Regions from separate parts of the Homo sapiens genome. Here regions 2, 3 and 4 are each linked to region 1. Evidence: promoter capture Hi-C in human tissues and cell types (Jung and others, 2019). All regions are on one chromosome and are shown on one strand. Each heading gives the region's core, a stretch centred on a gene start or on the middle of the fragment in contact. The rest is flanking DNA. Distances are from core to core; before and after follow the strand shown.

Evidence for each region. Contacts are between HindIII fragments. The study calls those that stand out against the background at their distance.
Region 2: a contact is called between a fragment that was not itself captured here and the fragment with the promoter of WWC1 in region 1, in 2 of the 25 tissues and cell types used here (IMR-90 fibroblasts and stomach).
Region 3: a contact is called between a fragment that was not itself captured here and the fragment with the promoter of WWC1 in region 1, in 1 of the 25 tissues and cell types used here (stomach).
Region 4: a contact is called between a fragment that was not itself captured here and the fragment with the promoter of WWC1 in region 1, in 2 of the 25 tissues and cell types used here (H1 embryonic stem cells and bladder).

Annotation. Positions count from the first base shown.
Region 1 is chr5:168,288,194-168,293,812 of GRCh38, forward strand. It overlaps WWC1 (WW and C2 domain containing 1), which reads left to right and starts at 3,452. Exons shown (of 23, transcript NM_015238.3): 1 at 3,452-4,078. The coding sequence starts at 3,960. RefSeq lists an enhancer at 2,001-2,080 and silencers at 3,225-3,744, 3,845-4,264. The HindIII fragment of the contact is 18,450 bases long and covers 1-5,619 here.
Region 2 is chr5:168,430,744-168,436,234 of GRCh38, forward strand. It overlaps WWC1 (WW and C2 domain containing 1), which reads left to right. Exons shown (of 23, transcript NM_015238.3): 15 at 509-701. Among named protein-coding and RNA genes, the nearest start is that of RARS1, 53 kb to the right of the region's middle. The HindIII fragment of the contact is 9,210 bases long and covers 1-5,491 here.
Region 3 is chr5:168,474,355-168,480,276 of GRCh38, forward strand. No RefSeq gene overlaps it. Among named protein-coding and RNA genes, the nearest start is that of RARS1, 9.2 kb to the right of the region's middle. The HindIII fragment of the contact is 6,213 bases long and covers 1,256-5,922 here.
Region 4 is chr5:168,447,607-168,453,420 of GRCh38, forward strand. All of the region lies in intron 17 of WWC1 (WW and C2 domain containing 1), which reads left to right. Among named protein-coding and RNA genes, the nearest start is that of RARS1, 36 kb to the right of the region's middle. The HindIII fragment of the contact is 3,206 bases long and covers 2,748-5,814 here.

The DNA.
Region 1 (5,619 bases), core at 2,202-4,701:
AAAAGGGTTCAAGTGCGCATCGTTTTTAAAAACAAGACAGCCTGTCTCAGGCTCAGGTGATTCCTCTGGGCCACCGGGATGTGGCCTTTGTCATTAGAAAGGCTTGGCCTGTGGTCACTTCTGCACTGCCCAACACTGCCCAAGCCTGTCTCCTTCAACTCCACACGCGGGCAGCCAGACGCAGCCCCAGGAGGGTGGCCAGGAGAGGGCTGGGCTTCTTGTCTTCAGTTCGGATTCCTGCAGTTCAGTCACCTGTAGAGTAACGTCCAATTCAGCCTATCATGTGGCTGAGCCGGTTTTACCTTTAATCTCTTTCACGTTTGCCCTCAGCCTCGCAGAATGTCCGGGATGATTCACGCGCCATCACATGGGGCAGGCAGTCATCTGTTTTATTACCTCACCCTGCTTGCCGCTTCTGCGAGATAACCTGGGATTCTTTCGTTGGGGGTGGATGGGAGGTAAAAAGAGCGAACAGACCTAGGCCTTAATTCAGGAGTCAATTCCTGCTCTGGTCTCTCTTTCTTGCTTCCCAGGCCAGGTCAAAAGGTCCAAAGAAGCAAGCCATTTGGAAAATGCCAGGGTTTGGGTGGCTGGACTAAAACGAAAGTGGGACTTGGCAGTCTAAAAGGTGTTTTCTCTTCACAATCAATGCCAACCAGTAAAAAGGCTTGGTTGAAAAATAAGGCCAAAAAAAAAAAAATCAGCAATTAGGAGGACTGTTGCAAGCAAGCAGGCATAATTTTCAGAAGGGGAAAGGACGTGGATTTGTGTTTTGAACAGAAAATACTTCAAATGGTCCACATTTCATAGAGGTGTGTCTGCTGCCAGGCACGGTGCTCCGAATGCACCGCACCACAGCCCCTGAGATGAAGGCGTGCTGCTGAGTGCCAAGCCCTCACATTTCTCCTCCTGCTTTGCCCTAACCACAAGCCCAAAGGAGTCCATATTGTTATGTGATTTTTTTTCAAATCAAAGACTGAGACTTCAGTGAAGCAAGCTGCCCAAGGTCACACAGCTAGAAAACCGGGTGGGCTTGGGACCCAAACAGCCTGATTCTAGAGCTCTTGCTTCTCAACCAAAAAACTATGAAGCAAACATCAACAGAGATGAACATTTGTCAGTATCAGTCATGTTCCACATCCCAACCATGGGGAAGTTCTGAGGCTGCAGAGTGATTTAAAAAAGAAAGAAAGTCTCCAATCTGGGTGACAGAGCGAGACTCCGTCTCAAAAATAAAAAGAAAGAAAGAAAGAAAGTCAGCCAGGCAAGGTGGCTCATGTCTGTAAGCCCAGCACTTTGGGAGGCTGAGGTGGGCGGATCACCTGAGGTCAGGAGTTCGAGACCAGCCTGGCCAATATGGTGAAACTCCAGCTCTACTGAAAAATACAAAAATTAGCTGGGCGTGGTGGCGCAGGCCTGTAATCCCAGCTACTCTGGAAGCTGAGGCAGGAGAATTGCTTGAATCTGGGAGGCAGAGGTTGTAGTGAGCCGAGATCATGCCACTGCACTCCAGCCTGGGGGATGGGGGGAGACTCCATCTCAAAAAAAGAAAAAAAGAAAGTATAGGTTAATAACTGAGAACACTGCACTAGAGTCAGACCTAGTCTGTCTTATGAGCTCTGTATCCCAGGCCAACAACAAAGCATCTTGGAGCCTCATCTGTAAAATGGGTATAATAAATAGACTTTCCTATGCCAGAGGGTTGTTATGAAGATTGAGATCATGTATTCAAAGAACCTAGCACCAGGTTGGCTTTGCTTTGGGGCTACTGCTCTAATCAATAGTGGGTTTTTATGTAGTAAAGGCTTGACCCAAACAGAGGAAGTGTAGAGGGCTGTGGGAATTCCCCCATAAAGGAATGGGGAATTCCAACTTTTGGGTGTTGAGGGCCAGTCTGAGGCTGGTGTCCCTGGACTCTGGTGCCTGGTATTTATGGAATGAAGGAGGGCCAAGCACTGAGCCCCGAGGCCTGGCCTCAGGGAAGGAATTAACTATGAAGAAGGCATTTGGAGGCGAGGCTCACTCTGGTGGGTCTTTTCTGTCAAGAGGAGATGAGACCACAAACATGATTCCCTCTCTGGCTCAGCAACACCCTGGTCCATACAGCACAGGGTGCTGGTTCTTCTGGAAGACCGTGGGGCTCAGGCAAGAGAAGACACCCAACTGGGCTTCATTCGACCAGTCCAGCTTCCTGCCATATGCCGAGGGCAAAAAAGGGTTAAATTCCCACTCAGTACACAGATGTAAGAGGAGATGGGGAAGTGAACAGCCAGTTGATCATTCACTCAATCATGCTAGCTTGCTTTTTGTATTTAATGCTACATTTTAAATTTATTTATTTATTTATTTGAGACAGAGTCTCGCTTTGTTGCCCAGGCTGGAGTGCAGTGGTGCGATCTTGGCTCACTGCAACCTCCACCTCCCAGGTTGAAGTGATTCTCATGCCTCAGCCTCCCGAGTAGCTGGGACTACGGGCGTGCACCACCACGCCCAGCTAATTTATTATTATTATTTTTTAGTAGAGATGGGGTTCACTATGTTGGCCAGGCTGGTCTGAAATCCTGACCTCAGGTAATCTGTCTGCCTCACCCTCCCAAAGTGCTGGGATTACAGGCGTGAGCCACCGCACCCACTAATTCTACATTTTTAATTTCTCAAGAAACATTGTGTCTCTGATTGTTTTATTCTCTTGAACATTTTTCAAGATGGAATTTTGCTTTGCTTACTTTCTTCTTTTTCATAGCCCCACTTCTCCCAAATCCATAACACACCTACCTCAAAGTATCACAGGAAAGAAAGCCTGTGAAGCTGCTAGCCACAGCCTGTCACAAGTAAGTCCTCAATTTAGCTAACAATAACAATGGCATTACTATTACTTTTACAAAGTGTTTTCCCTGACACCCTCTGGAAGTCCTCCCAGGAAAGCGGATCCACAGCGCTCCTAATTTTAGGGACCCTGAGGGGAGCCAGCTACATTTCCAAATGGTGGGGAAGGGTGGAGGGTGGGCGAAACGTCGTAGGGAGAGTTGAATAGAAGGAGACAGATGGTGCCTGTGTTGGGGGAAGGGACCAGAGATCCTGGAAAACTTATGTTTCCCAATTCGCAAGAATGTTTCCATTTAACCACTTCTTGCCTGACTCCTGATTCTACACCACAGAAAAGCAGGGAGTTTTTAAGATTTGGGGCCACCTGTGCCGAGAGCCTGGCTACTCCGGGTGGAGAGAGACAGGAGCGTTTTAAGTACAGGCAGAGCGGTTTTTGGCCCAGCCCCCTAGGTCTGGGACGCAGGTGAGGGGCGGTCTCTCCTTCCCCTGGCAGGGGCAGCGTAAGGGTGGCCGGCGGCTGGGACTGTCCCACGAGGGGGCGCGTCTCGGGCCCTAGGACCCGCCCTCGAGGCGCTGCGCGCGGGGAGGGGACCCGGGAACCCAGGCGCCCGGCGCTCCGCCTCCCGTTTCCGGGGCAGCGCGGTTACCTGCACCGCCCGAGCCGCACCTGGCGGAGGCAGAAGTCACAAACCCGGCGAGCTCAGAGCGGTGGAGCGGAGAGGAGGGACGGCACCCGGCTGCAGGGAGGAGGGAGGCGGCAGCGGCAGCGGCGGCGTGGAGGGCGCAGCGCGCCGCGCGGCGGAGGAGGGCAGACGGCGGCGGCGGCGGCGCTCGGCTCGCTCTGCCCGGCCGGCTGGGCGCGCACCCGGGCTCGCACCGCGCCGCTGCGGACGCACATGGCAGCGTGAGAGGCCGGCGGCGGGAGGAGCGGGCGGCGCCGGGTCGGGGCTGCAGGGCCGCATGGACAGCGGCGCCACCCCGGCCGGCCCCTACTAGGGCCCCCCATCTGCGGGCGCCACCCCCCGGATCATGGTGCCTCGGCGGCCGCCCGGGCTAAGAGCGGCCGGCTGGAGCCGCTGAGCCCCCGCTGCGGCCGGGAGCTGCATGGGGGAGCGCCGGCAGCGCTTGGGAAGATGCCCCGGCCGGAGCTGCCCCTGCCGGAGGGCTGGGAGGAGGCGCGCGACTTCGACGGCAAGGTCTACTACATAGACCACACGAACCGCACCACCAGCTGGATCGACCCGCGGGACAGGTAGGACCCTGGAACCCTCCTCCGTGCCCCCACACCCCCGCCTGGGCCCCCACCTGCCCCTGGAGCCGCCGGCCGGGACTGGGAGGGGGCAGGGGAGCTCTGCGTGCCTCTTGAGCTCTCTTCAGTTCGCCACCCCCTGCTCCCCCCAACCTTCTGGAGCGCTGCTCCCGCCTCAGTGGGCCACCGAGAGGAGGCGCCTGCCGGGGAGCTGGCCCAGGCTGCCCCACCGCCATCCCCAGTTGGAGGACTTAGGCCCCAGCCGGCACCTGCCCGGAGTTTTGACCTTAAGCTCTAGCCCCGCCCGCCCCCTTTAGGAAGAGAGGTCGGGCGGGGGCGGGGGTTGGGGGAGCGACCTAGCCGGGTGAAGCCGGGTCTTCCCGGGGAGGCTTCCACCCAGCGTGGGGGGTGGGCGGATGGGGATGGGGAAGTGTCCGGTTAGAGGGGGTGGTCAAGACCCCAGGATTCCGTGGGAGACCACTGGAGAGAGGGCACTCGGCGCAGAGGAAGGCAACCTGAGGTGTGCTTTTTGACAGGTGCCTTGGAAGCTGCTGAGAACAGCACAGGGGCAGCCAGGGGGCCCTGGAACCCGAGGGTGGGGAGGAAGTGAAGAAGCGGGGGAGGGCAGATGAGGGAGACTGGTTATCCAGGAATCTGGCAGCAACTTGGAAGCTGTTAGGATGGAGATGGAGGTGAGAGGCCTCCCGGAAAGCCTTGCCCCTCGCCTCTTTCTCCTCTCTTTCTTCCCTGATCGGGGAAGGGGGCGGCGAGGCTCCTCAGCCCTGCACCAGCGGGACCTGACCTTGGTGGGTACCAGGCCGCTGTAGGTTGAGATAATGTGCAGAGGCAGATGGAGCCTGAGATAGCTCGGTGTGGCTCTTACCTCTCCAGACTTTCTCCTGGTTGTTTGGCATTTCTTTGCTCACATGCTGCACACACACACATACATTCACCCTCTCCATGTATGTCCTAGAGTCCCCGGACCACGATGTTGTTGACACGGTCTGTGGGCAGAGTGTCTTGGGGAATGCGGACTTTAAACCTTGTCTGTGACCTTGGGGGTCAGGTCCCTGTAAAGCAACCAAGGTGAATTTCTTGGACTCTTCATCTTGTGTGGTGGGGGTGGAGGTGTCCCAGAAGTGTATGTAGCAAGATGTGGGTCAAAAAAAGAATATAAGCGGAAAGAAAATGAGAGTTGAGATTCTCGGTAGTTTCTGGGAGCACTTACTTTCATTCATTCATTCATTCGTTCATTCAGCGCTTCCTGGATGCCTCCTCTACACTCAGCACCATGCTGAATGTCTCATGAATGTAATCTGGAAGGTAAATATTTAGTGCTAGAGAGCATCTCTTAGGCAAGCTGCTTCAACCTCTGAGCCTCAGTTTCCCTGTTTGTCAGATGGGGGAGCCCACCATTTCCCTGAATTTAAAAAGTTTGCTTGGAAGGGAATATTGGGATGCTTAAAACTTGGAAGGGACGTACATCAGCGCCCAACTCCCATTTGAAACATAAGAGAAAATTTGAAGCCCAGAGGTGTGATTTG
Region 2 (5,491 bases), core at 247-2,746, 140 kb after region 1:
TAGATGGGTTTATCCTTTATTGCACTCATCTGCCTCCAAGTTTTCTCTGATCGTAAGGCCTGGAGGGTGGCAACAGAAGCTTATGTGTCTGTGGTCTACACTCAGCCAGCCTGTGAGGGTGGCACATGTGGGAAGAAGAAAGGGCAGGAAGGCGGACAAAACGGAAGGAAGACAAGATGGGATGCTTGGGTCAATTTCAGTCTTCTGCCCACACAGACAGTGCCAGGCTGAATAGCCTCCTCCATAGCTCACTGGTACTCATGCAGGGGCATCTGTGGGATAATGCCTAGAAGTGAAGGGTCTGGACCAAAGGACAAATGCATCTGGAATTTTGTTCGATTTGTCAAAGTTCCTTCCAGTGTATAGGGGCCTGATTCCCCAGATTCCTCACTTCTACAAACTCTCATCCACTGTTGTTTGCTTAGGGATTTCAGCAGCTGTTTAGTCCAACATTTTAGCCCCAGACATGGGCTGACCCAAGATTTCCTGCGGTTCTGTCTCCCTCTAGGAATATCCGCGTGGCTGTCCTTCCTTGCTCTGAAAGCACAACCTGCCTGTTCCGGACCCGGCCTCTGGACGCCTCAGACACTCTAGTGTTCAATGAGGTGTTCTGGGTATCCATGTCCTATCCAGCCCTTCACCAGAAGACCTTAAGAGTCGATGTCTGTACCACCGACAGGAGCCATCTGGAAGAGTGCCTGGTAAGGGCCGTGTCTGGCTGGCTGGCTGGCTGGCTGGCTGGCTGGCTGGCTGGCTGGCTGACCGGCCTTCTGTGTTTATGGGGATTGGTCTACCCTGAGCTTCAGGAAGAAGGTTCGAAGGAGACGCAGGTTGTGCTATCAATCAGGCTCATCTTGGATTCTAGGCAGCGAGGCTTCCACAGGTGAATGTTGTTCTCAGACTTAGGGTGGGAGGGAAGGAGCTCTTTCACAAGAGGAAGAGTAATGGACCTGAAAGTGCCTTTTAAAACTGCCAGAACCTGGAAAAAGCCACATACTGCAGCTTTACTATACAGCATGAGAGATTAGATAAGAAGCACAGACTATGGCTGTGTGGTGGCTTATATCTGTAATCCCAACCCTTTGGGAGGCCAAGGCCAGAGGATCACTCAAGTGCAGGAGTTCGAAAGCAGCCTGGGCAACACAGCAAGACCCCATCTCTACAAAAAATAAAATTAGCCAGGCATAGTGGTGCATGCTTGTAGTCCTAGCTACTCTGGAGGTTGAGATGGGAGGATCCCTTGAGCTGCAATGAGCTGATCATGCCGCAGCATTCTGGCCTGGGCAACAGCAGAACCCTGTGTCAAAAAAAAAAAAAAAAAAAGCACAGAGTAATGAAAGCAAACACATAGGCATTCACATCCCACCTTTACCACTTGCTGTATAGCTGGATGACCTTGGGCAAGGTACTTAACATCTCTGATCCTCATTTTTCTTATCCCTAAAATGCAAATGATAATGCCTCCATCATGCCCACTGGAAGAATCTTTATAAGGATTGAGATAGCACCCGTAAAACACCTATTCAAGTGTCTGATCCACAGTGGGTTCTCGTTTAGTGGGGCCATTGCCAGCCTCCTCCCTGAAACTGACCTTCTCCGGCTTCCATCTCTCACTGCATTGGCAGGAGTCAGGACTGGGGATGAAGTAGCCCAAGTACATTTTGTCCTAAGAGACAGGCAGACCCAAGTGCAGACAGATACTCAGCTTTCCCATCTGTAGAAGGGGGATTTATATAATAGCTAACTCGGGCTTGTGATGTACAAGTGAATTAGAAGAAGTAAAGGGCTTTGTTAACCCTGATGCCATTTAGTGTTAGAATATTTTAATGATAACTCAACTGTGGGCACAAAGGAGCCCAAGTGTGGGCATTATACCTAGAAGGTCGCTCCACTCATGCTCAGATCTGTACTGGGAGCTTGTTGTGTCCCCACCCCTGTGTCTGGGGCTGGGGATTCAATGGGGAACCAAACAGACAAGGTGCCAGCATTGATGGCTAAGATGTAAACAAACTGTGAGGAGGGCCGTGTTGGAAATGGATGGGTTGAAGTGATGGAGGAAAATGTGGGGTATGTGCAAAGGGGAAAAACAAGATGTATACACCTCTCCGAGCCTCTCCTGCCTCCATTTCTGGAAGCTGGAATGTAGAGCCTCTCACTGCCTTCTTGGAGGGCTCGCCCCTTTCTCCTGCTGTAAATCACAGACCTTTGCCCAGAGAAGGGAATCTCTTTGCTCTCCATCCTTGCCTTGATCTGCATGCGCTATAAAACCCTTCTCTATCATGGCATTGTGGGGCCACATCCTTGGATTGTGGCCTGGGGCTGTCACCAGCCTTGCCCTTCCAGCTGTGTCTCCTCACAGTCTTCAATTCTTAGTCTCAGTTCCCTTATCTGTAAAATCTGGCTCATACTGCCTTCCTGGAGGTGGTTCTCTGAAGACTAACTAAGGCGCTGAAGCAGCGCTTCAAACTGTGCCATGCACACAAGTTACCTGGAGCTCTGGCTAAATGCAGATTCTGATTCAGCAAGTCTGGAGCAGAACCTGAGATTCTGCATTTCTAATAAGCTCCCAGGTGAGGCCAATGCTGCTGGTTCCTGGATCACACTTTGGGTAGCAAGAATGTAGAGCAGCAAAGTGTTTGCAGTTTGTGCTCACTGGATATCGGTTCCCATCTCTCCTTCTTAGCTGGGTACAACACAGCATCACTGCTATTGATGTTGTTACTGACAATAATGCAGTAGTTAATACCAGTAGGTTGCAGTTTATATGGCAGGCACTGAGTTAAGCTCTTTACATGCATTATCTGTTTTTTTTATTTTAGACTGAGTCCTGCTCTCAGTCTCTGGAGTGCAGTGGCGTGATCTTGGCTCACTGAAACCTTCACCTCCTAGATTCAAGCAATTCTCCTGCCTTAGACTCCAGAGTAGCTGGGACTACAAGCGCCCACCACCACACCCGGCTAATTTTTGTATTTTTAGTAGAGGCGGGGTTTTGCCATGTTGGCCAGGCTGATCTTGAACTCCTGACCTCAAGTGATCCGCCTGTCTCCACCTCCCAAAGTTCTGGGATTACAGGTGTGAGCCACCACCCCAGCCCATTATCTCTATTGATCCTCACTCCAACCTTGCAAAATAGGTAGCGTATTCCAGTGGAGAAACTGAGGCACAAAGAGGTGAAAGACCTTTCCTGTCACAGTTAGGAAAGTGGCAGAAGCCGTATTTGAACCCCAGCAGGTCTCCCTCTGAAGTCCACACACGTCAGCGCCTCTGTGTTGTCTCTTTGCCAGCACAGGGCTCCCTGGAGCCCAGAGATGGGGGTGGTGACTTGAAGGGGTTGGCAAGCCTGGGCTCCTCCAGCGAAGCATTCCCTTGGCCCTGGGCATTCCTAAGCGAGAAGAGGCTCAATCCTATTTTCTTCTCCTAATTGGATGCCTTTTATTCCTCCTTCCTAATTGAAGTCTGGTCATTGCTGGTTGCCATGGCAGCAGCCAAAGCGCTCATCTCACTGTGGCTTGTCTCTGCCTGCGGCCAATGGGAAACCTCCTTTCCCATATACGGTGGGGACATGGAGTGTCAGGCTGTCGTATTCTGGTGGCTGGAGGAGGAGAGGAAGTGAGATGGGAGGAAAAAGGCCTGTCCTCTCCCACGCAGAGACTCCGGACAGCAGGATGTGTGGAATCCCCAGTCTGTTTTCAGCCAGGCAGCAACAGCATCTGTACTGAGTTGAGTCTATGTGTCTACCAGTGGGCTAAGAACTTCATGTGCAGTATCTCATTTAATCTTCGTGATGGCCCCAGGAAGATAAGGGATCAAGGCCCAGAAAGGCTAAGTAAGCTGCCAGGTCATCCAAGGAGAAAATGGCAAAGCCTGGATTTGAACAGAGACTCCAGCTTCCTTATGTGTAGCCATCTCACCATGCTACTTCTCAGGGGGTTACTATGAGTGTCTCTCATGTCCCCAGACCCAGATTACAGGTTTGGAGGAATACACAGCCCACCTTCCCAATATCGCAGGCAACAGTTCCACCAAATGCCCTGCATGGCATCACAGGGAGCCTAGTTGCCCACTGCTCTACTGCTGAGCTCAATGCCACCCAGCCCGGGCTCTCTCGAGCTAGCCTGCTTCTCAGGCCCCACTGACGTCCCATGGTTCACCATTACAACCGTTCCCTTGCCTCCTCTCACTTTGGCATACTAACTTGGCAAAACCCAGCCCTGTCAAAGTGAACTCTCCACCCCCTCCTCTCCAACTGAGCAACTGGAAAAAAAAATGCACACAACCACGCTGTATGGTATCATTTGGAAATGGTGATCACTCACTTCCCATGAGCCCTCAATGCTGCCCAGAAATTATACTGTATCTCCCTGGACCATTTACTCACCCACTCATCACAATGACTAATTCATACTTCTCTCAGGGAGAGAAGAGAGGACAGACTCAGAAGAGGGCCCCCACACCATATCTGGCTGTTCTTGTAGGTTCTGCCATTTCCCTGGCTTCTGAGGGTGGGCCTTCTGCACTCCTGTCTGAGGCCACCACCCCCATTTTCTCGCAAGGACATTACTCCAGCAGCCATTCCGCTCTTTCCTCTATCTTCAATTTTCCCTCCTCCACTGGATCCAGCCTATCAGTATATCATCATGCTGTTATTTCTCCCATGCTCAAAACAAAACAAAAAAATTTTTTTTGACAGAGGATCTTGCTTTGTTGCCCAGGCTGGAGTGCAGTGCTGTGAACTCAGCTCACAGCAGCCTTGACCTTCTGGGCTCAAGTGATCCTCCCACTTCAGCCTCTCCCATAGCTGGGACTACAGGCACATGCCACCATGGCCGGCTAATTTTTGTATTTTTTGTAGAGATGGGGTCTCACTATGTTGCCCAGGCTGGTCTTGAACTCCTGGGCTCAGGCAGTCCTCCCGCCTCAGCCTCTCAAAGGGCTGGGGTTTACAGGCGTGAGCCACCACACCCGACCTAAAACTTTTTTCACCCCATTTCCACTTCCAACTACTACATTGTTTCTTTCCCTTTCTTTATAGAAAAACTTGAAAGAGGTGTTCCCTTCCTCTCTGTAACCCAATCCATGTGGACTTTGGCCCTCATCTTTCTTTTTTCTTTTTTTTTATTTTTGAGACAGAGTCTGTTGCCCAGACTGAAGGGCAATGGCGTGATCTTGGCTCACTGCAACCTCCGCTTCCCGGGTCCAAACCATTCTCCTGCCTCAGCCTCCCAAGTAGCTGGGACTATAGGCACGCGCCACCACACCTGGCTAATTTTTGTATTTTTATTAGAGATGGGGTTTCCCCATGTTGGCCACGCTGGTCTCAAACTTCTGACCTCAAGCGATCCACCCACCTTTTCCTCCGAAAGTGGTGGGATTACAGACGTGAGCCACCGTGCCTGGCCTGGCCCTCATCTTTGTACCGAGGGTGTGCTCTTCATGTTCCTCAGGGAGCTCCTTGTTACCAGACCAGAGGCCAGCTCTCCATCTTCCTTCT
Region 3 (5,922 bases), core at 3,112-5,611, 190 kb after region 1:
GAGTAACAAAAGAACACAAGCTTGCCATTGCAGTACTTTTTACCATTTGCATTTATGTATTTGATTCTTTAGTTTTATCTGTCTGTTTATTAGGATGTTGGAGACACAGGGCAGGCACCATGCATATCTTGTTCACTATTTTAGCCCTGGGGCCATGACAGTCCCTGACAGATGGCAGACCCTCCAACACTTGTTCAGTGAGTGAATTAAGCTAAGACCAAAGTTCTAATTCCAATCCTGCCAAGTACCAACACGAATGTGGGCACACACTTCCAAATGGTTTTCAACCCTCTCTGCAGGCTGCTATGACAACAAGTGACTGGATGCACTGTTTCCCCAGAGGGAGGCATAAGTGTATGATTGGTGACAGGAGATAATGTTAGGTGGTACATGGGTGAATTTTTATATTTATAGTCATATTTGTTTTAATATACATAATATATAACTTGTCCATCAAACCCATGCTTTCACAGATATTACTGTTTAAGATGAGGATAAGTAAATATTTAAGTTAATAAAGTGAATCAATTTAAAGAAAAATATGTACTTAGGTGAAACAAAGAAATGGCAAAAATAGTGATGATGAAAACATCTGGGGCCGGGCGCAGTGGCTCACGCACCCTGGGTGGGCCTTCCCACCACCCTTGTGATAGGAGGGAGAGGGAAAAAGAGAGGTTTTCAAGGATCAGGGGACCTGCCTCCTCCTAGGTCAGGGCTTTGTCTCAGCCCCACCCCTCCCTAGGAGAGTCACCGTGTGCTTGGGGGCATTCTCACTGTGCATAGGAGAGTGCACAGCTGAGGCAGGAGAATTGCTTGAACCTGGGAGGCGGAGGTTGCAGTGAACCGAGATCGTGCCACGGCACTCCAGCCTGGGCAATGGAGTGAGACTCTGTCTCAAAGAGCGTGCCCTCTCCCAGAGCCTCAGGATGGGAGCCTAGTGTCTTTTTTGAAAAAAATTAGACTTAGTTTTCAATTATTATGTAAGTAATTGATACACATCATTAAGTAAAAATGATAGGAGGCCATGGTTTTGGACTAAGCTCCTGCACCAGGCCCCAACAGACCAGACTAAAAATCAGAATGGAGTCACCCATGCTCAAGTTTCATGTCACCAAACCTAAACTAAGTTACCTGACCTTCAGGGAAATCGGGAGAGAGAGAACACCCAATTTCCCAGACAGGTCCTTTGAAGCCTTCAGTCCTTCAGTCATGAAGAAGTTCCCTCTGCCTTAATCCTTACAGGCAAAAAGGTAGCCTGAAGGAAACTGTCGTTAACTACGCAGTTATTTTTCTATTATTCTATTATGTCCCTATCTTATGAGAAAAGTAACTTTGAAAGGACTAATACATCCTGTTCTTAGCTTCTGCTTCCTTCAGGCCTTCTCTATGAAGCCAGCCTATTCTGCTCAGCGCTTTGGAACACTGATTCTATTTCATGGACCGAAGCATTGCCCAATTGTAGAATTGCAATAAAGCCAACTGAGATCTTTAAATTGGCTATAATTCATCCTTTGGCAATACAGTAAAAAAAAAAAATTCTCACAATTCTGTAGAAGGGTATGAGATATACAATAAAAGACACCCCCACCCTCTGCAATCTACCACTCACAGTAGTTTATCTGGTGGTTTCCACTTTTTAACAATGGTCTGGGCCAGGTGCAGTGACTCACTCCCGTAATCCTAGCACTTTGGAAGGTCGAGGCGGGCAGGTTGCCTGAGCTCAGGAGTTCAAGACCAACCTGGGCAACACAGTGAAACCCCTGTCTCTACTAAAATACAGAAGAAATTAGCCGGGTGTGGCGGCATGCGCCTGTAGTCCCAGCTACTCGTTTGGCTGAGGCAGGAGAATTGCTTGAACCCATGAGGCAGAGGTTGCAGTGAGCCGAGATCATGCCGCTGCACTCCAGCCTGGGTGACAGAGCGAGACTCTGTCTCTAAAAAAATAAATAAATAAAATTTAAAAATAAAATAATGCTCAGTAGGCCAGGCACGGTGGCTCATGCCTGTGATCCTAGCACTTTGGGAGGCCAAGGCAGGTGGATCACCTGAGGTCAGGAGTTTGAGACCAGCCTGGCCAATATGGTGAAACCCCTTCTCTACTAAAAATACAAAAATTAGCCAGGCGGGGTGGTGTGGGCCTGTGGTTCCAGCTACTTGGGAAGCTGAGGCAGGAGAATTGCTTGAACCTGGGAGGCGGAGGTTGCAGTGAACCAAGATTGTGCCACTGCACTCCACCTCTGGGCGATAGAGTGAGACTCTGTCTCAAAAATAAATAAAATAAAATAAAAATGGCCTGTATTATTTTTATTCATCATCTTCAGTAAGACCTCTCCACTCATCACCATAAAGATGAGGACATTATGGCACATACTTACCCTTTCTCCTTCCCAGCCACAACTTCTAATTTTTCTTAGTTACATTATTATTTTTATATAGTTTAAAAAAGGGTATCACATTTACGCACTGCTCTGTAATCATGTAATCCTAAAGCTTCCTCTGCTGTGAGTTGATTTAGAAAGTTAAAAACTAGTAAACAGCATTTACAGATTGATGGGGAAATCAACATTATTCCCTATGGAAACAAGTAGTGTGTGATCAGAGCTGGGTCATTAAAACTTTACCACTAGAAGGAAAATTTAAGGTTCCAGTCATTCTTTCCCTCCCCATAGCTTTTTTCATTTCTTCCTAGTCAGTTCATTTTCTCTTGAGAAGTAAAACCAAAATCCTAAGCCCCATGACGGACTGAATGGATGTCCTATCCTGTTGGCCAAGGAGAGCCCGGGACGGCATCTGGAGGTGGGACACACCTCCTTATACCCCCGCCCTCCCTAGCTTCCAGTAGGCATTCTTTCCTAAAATCTAAACAGAAACCAGACCTTTGGAAAGCCTGGCTTCACCGCTGATTTCCACCAACTCCCCCTCCCTTTTGCCATTTCACCACAACAACCAACATGCATTCCTTCCTGATAAGAGGCCACCCACCACTGAATGGTTCTGGCCAGTTTACAACGGATGTGCAGGGAGGGTTTTCATATCCTCCCCTTCGCCTTTTGACATCAGAGGCCCAGAAGCTCCACCCTCAGATCATGGTAAGGACACCATGTTTTGTACAGGGGTCCCATGAAGGGGCATGAAGCTCAGTTGCGCAGGCACACGTTTCTCCTTTCATAGATATTAGTGACCCCTCCTACAGCTTATTAAATATATATATTTGGCCACCTGCTCAGCACACATTCTTTTTTCCTCTGCCCTTCCCTCAAAGTGCATGTTTTCAGCTACTGGCTGGAGGCTACACTTTCCAGCCTGTCAGAGTGGCCACCTGCAGCATGCAACTCTTTATGTGAAATAAAGCTGTCCTCTCCAAATTTATGAACCTCATCATTCTTCTCTTGACTCTTTTTTTTTTTTTTTAAGACAGTCTCACTCTGTTGCCCAGGCTGGCGTGCAGTGGTGCGATCTCAGCCCACTGCAACCTCCACCTCTGGGTTCAAGTGATTCTCCTGCCTCAGCCTCCTGAGCAGCTGGGATTACAGGTACCCGCCACCACTCCCGGCTAATTTTTGTATTTTTGGTAGAGATGGGATTTCACCATGTTGGCCAGGCTGGTCTCGAACTTCTGACCTCATGATTTGCCCACCTCTGCCTCCCAAAGTGCTGGGATTACAGGCGTGACCCACCATGCCCAGCCACTTGACACTCTTAACCCATGTCCTCATTTTTAGACTCCTAATCCACCAGCAAGTTCTGCCAATTCTGTCTCTAAAATATATCATAAATCTATCCATTTTTTTTTCTGCTACCATTTTGATTTATCATTGCTGACCTGAACTTCTTGGAATTCTGAGATCAAGGTCCTGGCAGGTAGGGTCAGTGTCTTCAGAGGACTCTTTCCTTGGCCACTTTCTCCCTGTGTGTTCACATGGTCTTACCTCTGTGTGTGTCTGTATCTGCGTCCTAATCTCCTCTTATGAGGACACCAGTCATGTTGAGTTAGGGCCCATCCTCATGACCTCTTTTTTTTTTTTTTTTTTTTTGAGATGGAGCCTCTCTCCATCACCCAGGCTGGAGTGCAGTGGCGCGATCTCAGCTCGCCACAACCTCTGCCTCCCAGGTTCAAGTGATTCTCCTGCCTTAGCCTCCTGAGTAGATGGGATTACAGGTGCATGCCACCACACCCAGCTAATTTTTGTATTTTTAGTAGAGATGGGGTTTTGCCATGTTGACCAGACTGGTCTCAAACTCTTGACCTCAGTTGATCTGCCCACTTTGGCCTCCCAAAGTGCTGGGATTATAGGAATGAGCCACTTTGCCTGGCCCTCTTGACCTCATTTTAACTTATTACTTCTTTAAAGACCCTATTTCCAAATAGTCACATTCTGAGATATTGGGCGTTAGGACTTTAAGAACTTTGGGGGAATACATTTCAGCCCATAACACCACCCTTCTTTTTTTTTTAAGACGCAGTCTCGCTCTGTCACCCAGGCTGGAGTGCAGTGGAGCAATCTCAGCTCACTGCAAGCTCCGCCTCCCGGGTTCACGCCATTCTCCTGCCTCAGCCTCCCAAGTAGCTGGGACTACAGGCGCCCGCCATCACGCCCGGCTAATTTTTTGTATTTTTAGTAGAGACGGGGTTTCACCGTGTTAGCCAGGATGGTCTCGACCTCCTGACCTCGTGATCCGCTCGCCTCAGCCTCCCAAAGTGCTGGGATTACAGGCGTGAGCCACCGTGCCCAGCCAACACCACCCAACAAAAATTCACCACCCATCTACTCATCCAAACCCTCTAATGGTTCCCATTGTGCATAGAATAAAATAAAAAACCCCTGCCTTGACTTTACGTGGGTAAAGGGAAAGGGAAAGCTTTCCCCTTGGCCTCCTGAAGTTTCACTGGAAAATCAACTTGCAAAAGGCAGATTAGTGGGTAAAAAGGCATACAAGTTTATTTGCTGTATATTCACAGGGTATATACACAGGGTATTTACAAATTTGCTGTGTATTACTCAGTGCAACCACTGAGTAATTAATTGCTCACCCCGCAAGGTGGTGCCTAAGTGTATATGTCATCCTGGCAAAACAGATTATGGGAGTGGGGGAAGAGGAGTTCTGTTGAGGGGATTTTTAGGGAGAATGGATGGATTAGGGAACAGATATTAACGTGTACATTATCTTGTGAAAAGGTCTGTTCAAGTGTGGCTACACTGTTGGTTTTACAGGAAAGGGAAGAAAAAAGAGTCGTCCTTGATGTGCCTTACTTAGTGTGTCTGGATCTCAGGCAGATAAAGAAACTGTAACTTCTTTGGGAAAGATGGGGTGAGGGAGAAGGTCAGAGAAACCTTGAGTGTTCTTCGCTTCAGTATGTCAAAGCACCATATTTTGGGGTATCGGTTTCCGAGCCCCAACAACTTACAAATTCTTATATGCTCTCACTTTTGCCAATCTCTGCATCTGGGCCAGTACCCAATCCCCCCCTCCTTTTTTTTTTTTTTTTTTGAGACAGAGTCTTGCTCTGTCACCCAGGCTGGAGTGCAGTGGCACGATCTCGGCTCACAGCAACCTCCACCTCCCGGATTCACGCCATTCTCCTGCCTCAGCTTCCTGAGTAGCTGGGACTACAGGCACCCACCACCACGCCCGGCTAATTTTTTGTATTTTTACTAGAGACAGGTTTCACCGTGTTAGCCAGGATGGTCTCGATCTCCTGACCTCGTGATCCTCCCGCCTCGGCCTTCCAGAGTACTAGGATTACAGGCGTGAGCCACCGCGCCCGGCCTTTTTTTTTTCAAATGCGGTAATGTATCACTTAACGATGGGGACAGATTCTGAGAAATGTGCTATTAGGCAATTTTGTTGTGTGAGCATCAGAGAGTGTACTTGCACAAACCTGGATGGTAGAGCCTACTCCACACACAGGCTATATGGTGT
Region 4 (5,814 bases), core at 3,101-5,600, 160 kb after region 1:
GCAGACAGGATTGGGCCCACTGGCTGTAGTTTGCTGGTTCTTGTTTTACTCTTCTCTCTTACTATTTTTTTCATGTGATAAAGCAGATGGCAAGGTTCCTGGAATTTTTGTATGTTCCTTTGTTAGTTTAGGGTTCTCTCTAAATTGTCTCAATCTCTCTCTCCCCCTCCTTTTCTCTCTCTTTCTTTCTCTCTCTCTGTCTGTTTCTCCCCACTGACCCCTGGCCATCTCCCTCTCTCTTTCCTTTCCTCTCTGTTTCTCTGCCTCTCTCTCTCTTTCTGCTTGGCACACTGCTGTGCCACACTCTACTACGGATCACACAGGCAAAGGTCTGATGCCAGAAATAGGCCCAGGACCTATCTCCCAAAACCCTGGCACAAGATCAGTGGTTTCCACCAAATTCCAAGCTTGTGCTGAGACTTTTCAAGCCATCTCCTAGCAACCGCCTTCTGTCCCTTCTCCCTTTTTGGCCCCTGTCTCCACACCCCCTGCCATTCAAACTTCCCCCAGACGCTGTCTTACAAAGGGGGCTGGGGATCCCAGAGCTGCTGTAGTGGGGCAAACCATCTGCGGCCCCCTCCCCCAAGACTGGAAGCCTCTCTTGGTCCTGGGATGTTAACTGGCCTTGCCATGCCTGCTCATCTCTGGAGTCTTGGGTTCTGGTCTCCAAAAGGCTGTCCGTCTGTTCCAATTTACAGTCCTTCCTCGGCACCCAAAACCCGGCGTGTCACTGGTACTCCCTCTTTTTATTTTGTTTTTATATGTCTTTAAATGATATAATCAGAAAACTGGATTTTTTTTTAAAAGATCCACAAGCAAAATAAAACTAAGAGTGTTAGAAAATACAGGAGAATATAACACCAAACAATACTATGGGGAAAAATCTTTGTATTTGCCTCCTTGGGAACTCGTATTTGTCTGGGGCAGATGCTGAGAAGTGGCATTGCTGGATCGCAGGGTGTGTGTTTTTTATATTTTAATAGACATCATAGAATAGTTCTCAAATAAGATTTTTTTTTTTTTTTTTTTTGAGACGGAGTCTTGTTCTGTCACCCAGGCTGGAGTGCAGTGGCACGATCTCAGCTCACTGCAAGCTCCGCCACCTGGGTTCACGCCATTCTCATGCCTCATCCTCCTGGGTAGCTGGGACTACAGGCACCTGCCGCCATGCCCAGCTAATTTTTTGTGTTTTTTAGTAGAGATGGGGTTTCACCGTGTTAGCCAGGATGGTCTCGATCTCCTGACCTCGTGATCTGCCCACCTCCACCTCCCAAAGTGCTGGGATTACAGGCATGAGCCACCGCACCCAGCTATAAGATTTTATTAATAAATGCTCCCACCAGCAATGATTAAGAGTACCCTAACCTACAGCCTCTCTGACACTCAATCTAATCAAACTGCTGTAACTTAATTAAGCATATGTACATTTTTTTATTTTAACAGATAAGGCTAAATGGCCTTCAGAATGTAAATTGGCTGCTCTCCTTTTCACTTCCCACAGGGATATGCCTGTTTCTGTACCTTCACCAGCACTTGATATTACCAGATTTTTTTCCGCTTTGCCACTCCAGTAGGTGAAAAGATATTGTTGATTTTAATTATTTTTCTCTTTACAATTAAAATTAAGTTGGGTTTGTGGTTTTTTTTTCTCATCTTGGAATATTGAGATCAGATTCACAGTCAAAAAGAAGAGACTCCCGTAATGGTTGAGCACTTAGTGGATCTAGACAAACCTGTTTTGCAATCCTGGCTCCACAACTAGCCTGCCACATTGAACAAGGCCTCAGGCCTCTGCCGCTCACTTTTTGAATCTGGGAAATGGAGATCATCTCTTTGAGCACTGTTGTGAGGTGTAGCACCTGGAGCTTATTGAGCCCTCAATAAATACTGGTCAATGTGGCTTCTACAGAGGGCTTTGTGGAGGGGCTCCCTGTCTCCCTGTGTGTTCACATGTTTAACAGCTCTTTTTTTTTTTTTTTTTTTTTTGAGACAGTTTCACTCTTGTTGCCCAGGCTAGAGTGCAATGGTGCGATCTCGGCTCACTGTGACCTCCACCTCATGGGTTCAAGTGATTCTCCTGTCTCAGTCTGCCAAGTGGCTGGGATTACAGGCATGTGCCACCACGCCTGGCTACGTTTGTATTTTTAGTAGAGATGGGGTTTTTCTCCATGTTGGTCAGGCTGATCTCGAACTCCCGACCTCAGGTGATCCACCTGCCTCAGCCTCCCAAAGTGCTGGGATTACAGGCATGAGCCACCGCACCCGCCAACAGCTCTTTTATTTGTAGATAGAGAGGCTGCTGGGGCCAAGGAGGAGAGCCAAGGCCCCTCCACAGCCGCAGTCCTCATCTAAGTACAGAAGAGGTTTTAATTGCAGAGTTGCGAGTAGAGATCCAAAATGCATTCTCCCCATTGGGAAAATCCTCAGGGAGATTTTATGTTTCCCCACACTCTCGCCGAGCTAGCTAGCTGGATGTCAGATTCTCTGCTTTTGGCTAGGATTCTTTTGGCTCAGTATGATAACACTGTCTCATGCTGATCAGAAGCCGGGCAGTTCTGTATGTCTTTCAGAAGTCAAGATGGGAATAGAGATAAATTACTACTTAACAAATGCAGCCTATTTGTCACACCAAATCCTTCCAACCTTGGAGTCCAAGGGAAATGGAAAGTTTTAAGGACTATCACCAAAAGTCCCTTCAGCAAATGGTGTTGGAACAATTAGATATTCATATGGAAAAAAAAAACTTGAACACTTACATCATGTATAAAAATTAATCTGTGGCTGGGCACGGTGACTCACGCCTGTAATTTCAGCACTTTGGGAGGCCGAGGTGGGTGGATCATGAGGTCAGGAGATCAAGACCATCCTGGCCAACATGGTGAAACACCATCTCTATTAAAAATACAAAAATCAGCTTGGCATGGCGGCACGTGCCTGTAATCCCAGCTACTCGGGAGGCTGAGGCGGGAGAATTGCTTGAACCCGGGAGGCAGAGGTTGCAGTGAGCTGAGGTCGCACCACTGCACTCCAGCCTGGGCAACAGAGCGAGACTCCATCTCAAAAAAATAAAATAAAATTAATCTCAAATGGGTTATAGAGCTACACATAAAACCTGAAATTATAGAAGTTCTGAAAGTGTAAGAAAGAAACTATTCACAACTTTGAGGTAGGCAAAGATTTCTTAGGACATAAAAAGTACAAACTATAAAAGAAAAAAATCAATAACTTGGGCTTTATCATAATCAAAAACTTATGATCTTCGGAAGACACCACTGAGAAAATGAAAAGGCAAGCCACAGACTTAGAGAAAATCGTGCAGTCCACATACCAGACAAAGGATTCATAGCGCAAATATACTAAGATTTCTTACAACTCAATAATAAGACAACCCAATTTTTATTTTTATTTTATTTATTTATTTATTTTGAGACAGAGTTTTGCTCTTGTTGCCCAGGCTGCGATCTCGGCTCACTGCAATCTCGGCTCACTGCAATCTCCACCTCCCGGATTCAAGCGATTCTCCTGTCTCAGCCTCCCGAGTAGCTAGAATTACAGGTGCATGCCACCACACCTGGCTAATTTTTGTATTTTTAGTAGAGGCAACTCGGTTTTATCATATTGGTCAGGCTGGTCTCGAACTCCTGACCTCAGGTGATCCACCCACCTCGGCCTCCCAAACTGTTGGGATTATAGGCGTGAGTCACTGTGCCTGGCCAAAAACCTGATTTTTAAGGGGCTGGAGATTGTAACAGACACTTCACCTGGGAAGATGGTCATAAATGCATGAAGAGTTTCTCAACAAGAAAATGCAAGTTAGGCCAGGCTCAGTGGCTTACACCAGTAATGTTCACACTTTGGGAAGCTGAGGCAGGAAGATTTCTTGAGGCCAGGAGTTCAAGATCAGCCTGGGAAACAAAACCCCATCTCTGCAAAAGATTTACTAAATTAGCCGGGCATGGTGGCACGTGCCTGTAGTACTAGCTACTTGGGAGGCTGAGGCAGGAGAATCAATCACCTGAGCCCAAGAGTTCAAGGCGACAGTGAGCTATGATCACACCATGGCACTCCAGCCTTAGCCTTGGCGACAGAGCAAGATGCTGTCTCTAAAAACAAAGAAAGAAAAAAGAAGAAAATGCAAATTAAAACCCAACAAGATGCAAGTACACACCCAGTAGTAGAGTGACTAACTATAAAGATAAACAACACCAAGTGTAGTGAGGAACTAGAACTCTTAGAACATTGCTCAGGGGAAACTTAAAATGGCAAAATCACTTTGGAGAAGCCATTTGTTGGTGTCTTTTTTTTTTTTTTTTTTTTGAGGTGGAGTCTCAGTCTGTCACCCAGGCTGTAGTGCAGTGGCACTCTCTCGACTCACTGCAAGCTCCACCTCTTGGGTTCAAGCAATTGTCCTGCCTCAGCCTCCTGAGTAGCTGGGATTACAGGTGCCCACCACCACGCCTGGCTAATTTTTGTATTTTTAGTAGAGACAAGGTTTTACCACATTGGCCAAGATGGTCTTGAACTCCTGACCTGGGGTGATCCGCCCACCTTGGCCACCCAAAGTGCTGGGATTACAGGCGTGAGCTACCACGCCTGGCCTGTTGGTGTTTAAAAGGGTAAATTTATACTTACCGTATGACCCAGTAATTCTATTATCTGTTAGGGGCTGATTTGTGTCCCCCCAAAATTCAAACATTGAAGCCCTAACCCCTAGTACCTCAGAATGTGACTGTATTTGGAGGTAGGGCTTTTAAAGAGGTGGTTAACACGAGACCATTGAAGTTGGGCTGGGACCTCATACGAGGATATTTGGACACACAGACACCAGGGATGCGCATGCACAGAGGACAGACTGTGTGAGCACGCTGCAAGAAGGCAGCCATCTGCTAGCCAGGGAAAGGGGCCTCAGGTGAATCAAACCTGCTGACACCTTGAGCATGGATTTCCAGCCTCCAGGACTGCCAGAAATCAGTTTCTGTTGTTTAACCCACCTAGTAAGTGGTGTTTTAGTTTTGCAACCCTAGCAATATCCAACAGAAATGAAAACCTATATTCATGCATAGACTTGTACATGAATGTACAAGAAGCTTTATTCATACTTGCTTGGAAATGTAAGTAATCCAAATGTTCATCAACTAAACTCTCCTTCTCTCCCTCTTCCTCCTCCTCCTCCTCCTCCTCTTCTTCCTCATCTTCCTCCTCCTTTTCCTCAACCACCCGCCTCGTTCCAACGTTTGGAAGCCCTACCCTGGGTGCATTTAAAGGCAGGTGAACAGATCTAAACATGTTGCAATATAGCCATCCAATGGAATATTAATGATAAAAAGGAGTGAACTGTCTGGGCGCGGTGGCTCACGCCTATAATCCCAACACTTTGGGAGGCCAAGGTGGGTGGATCGCTTGAGCCCAGTAGTTTGAGACCAGCCTGGGCAACATACCAAAACTCTGTCTCTACAAAAAATAGGATAATTAGCCAGGTGTGGTGGCACACACCTGTAGTCCCAACAACTCAGGAGGCTGAGGCAGGAGGATCACTTGAGCCCACTGGTGGAGGCTACAGTGAGCCAAGATGGTCCCACTGCACTCCAGCCTGGGTGACAGAGTGAGACTCTGATTCAAAAGGAAAAAAAAAAAGGAATGAACCGCTGATGCATACAGCATTGTGGATAAACTTCAGAAATGTTATGCAGACACAGAGAAGTCAGAGACAAAACAGCATATATTGTCTGATTCCATTTGCATGAAACTCTAGAAAAGTCAAATCTAATCTATAATAACAGCTAATCATGGCTGCCTAGTGGGTGATTAAACTGG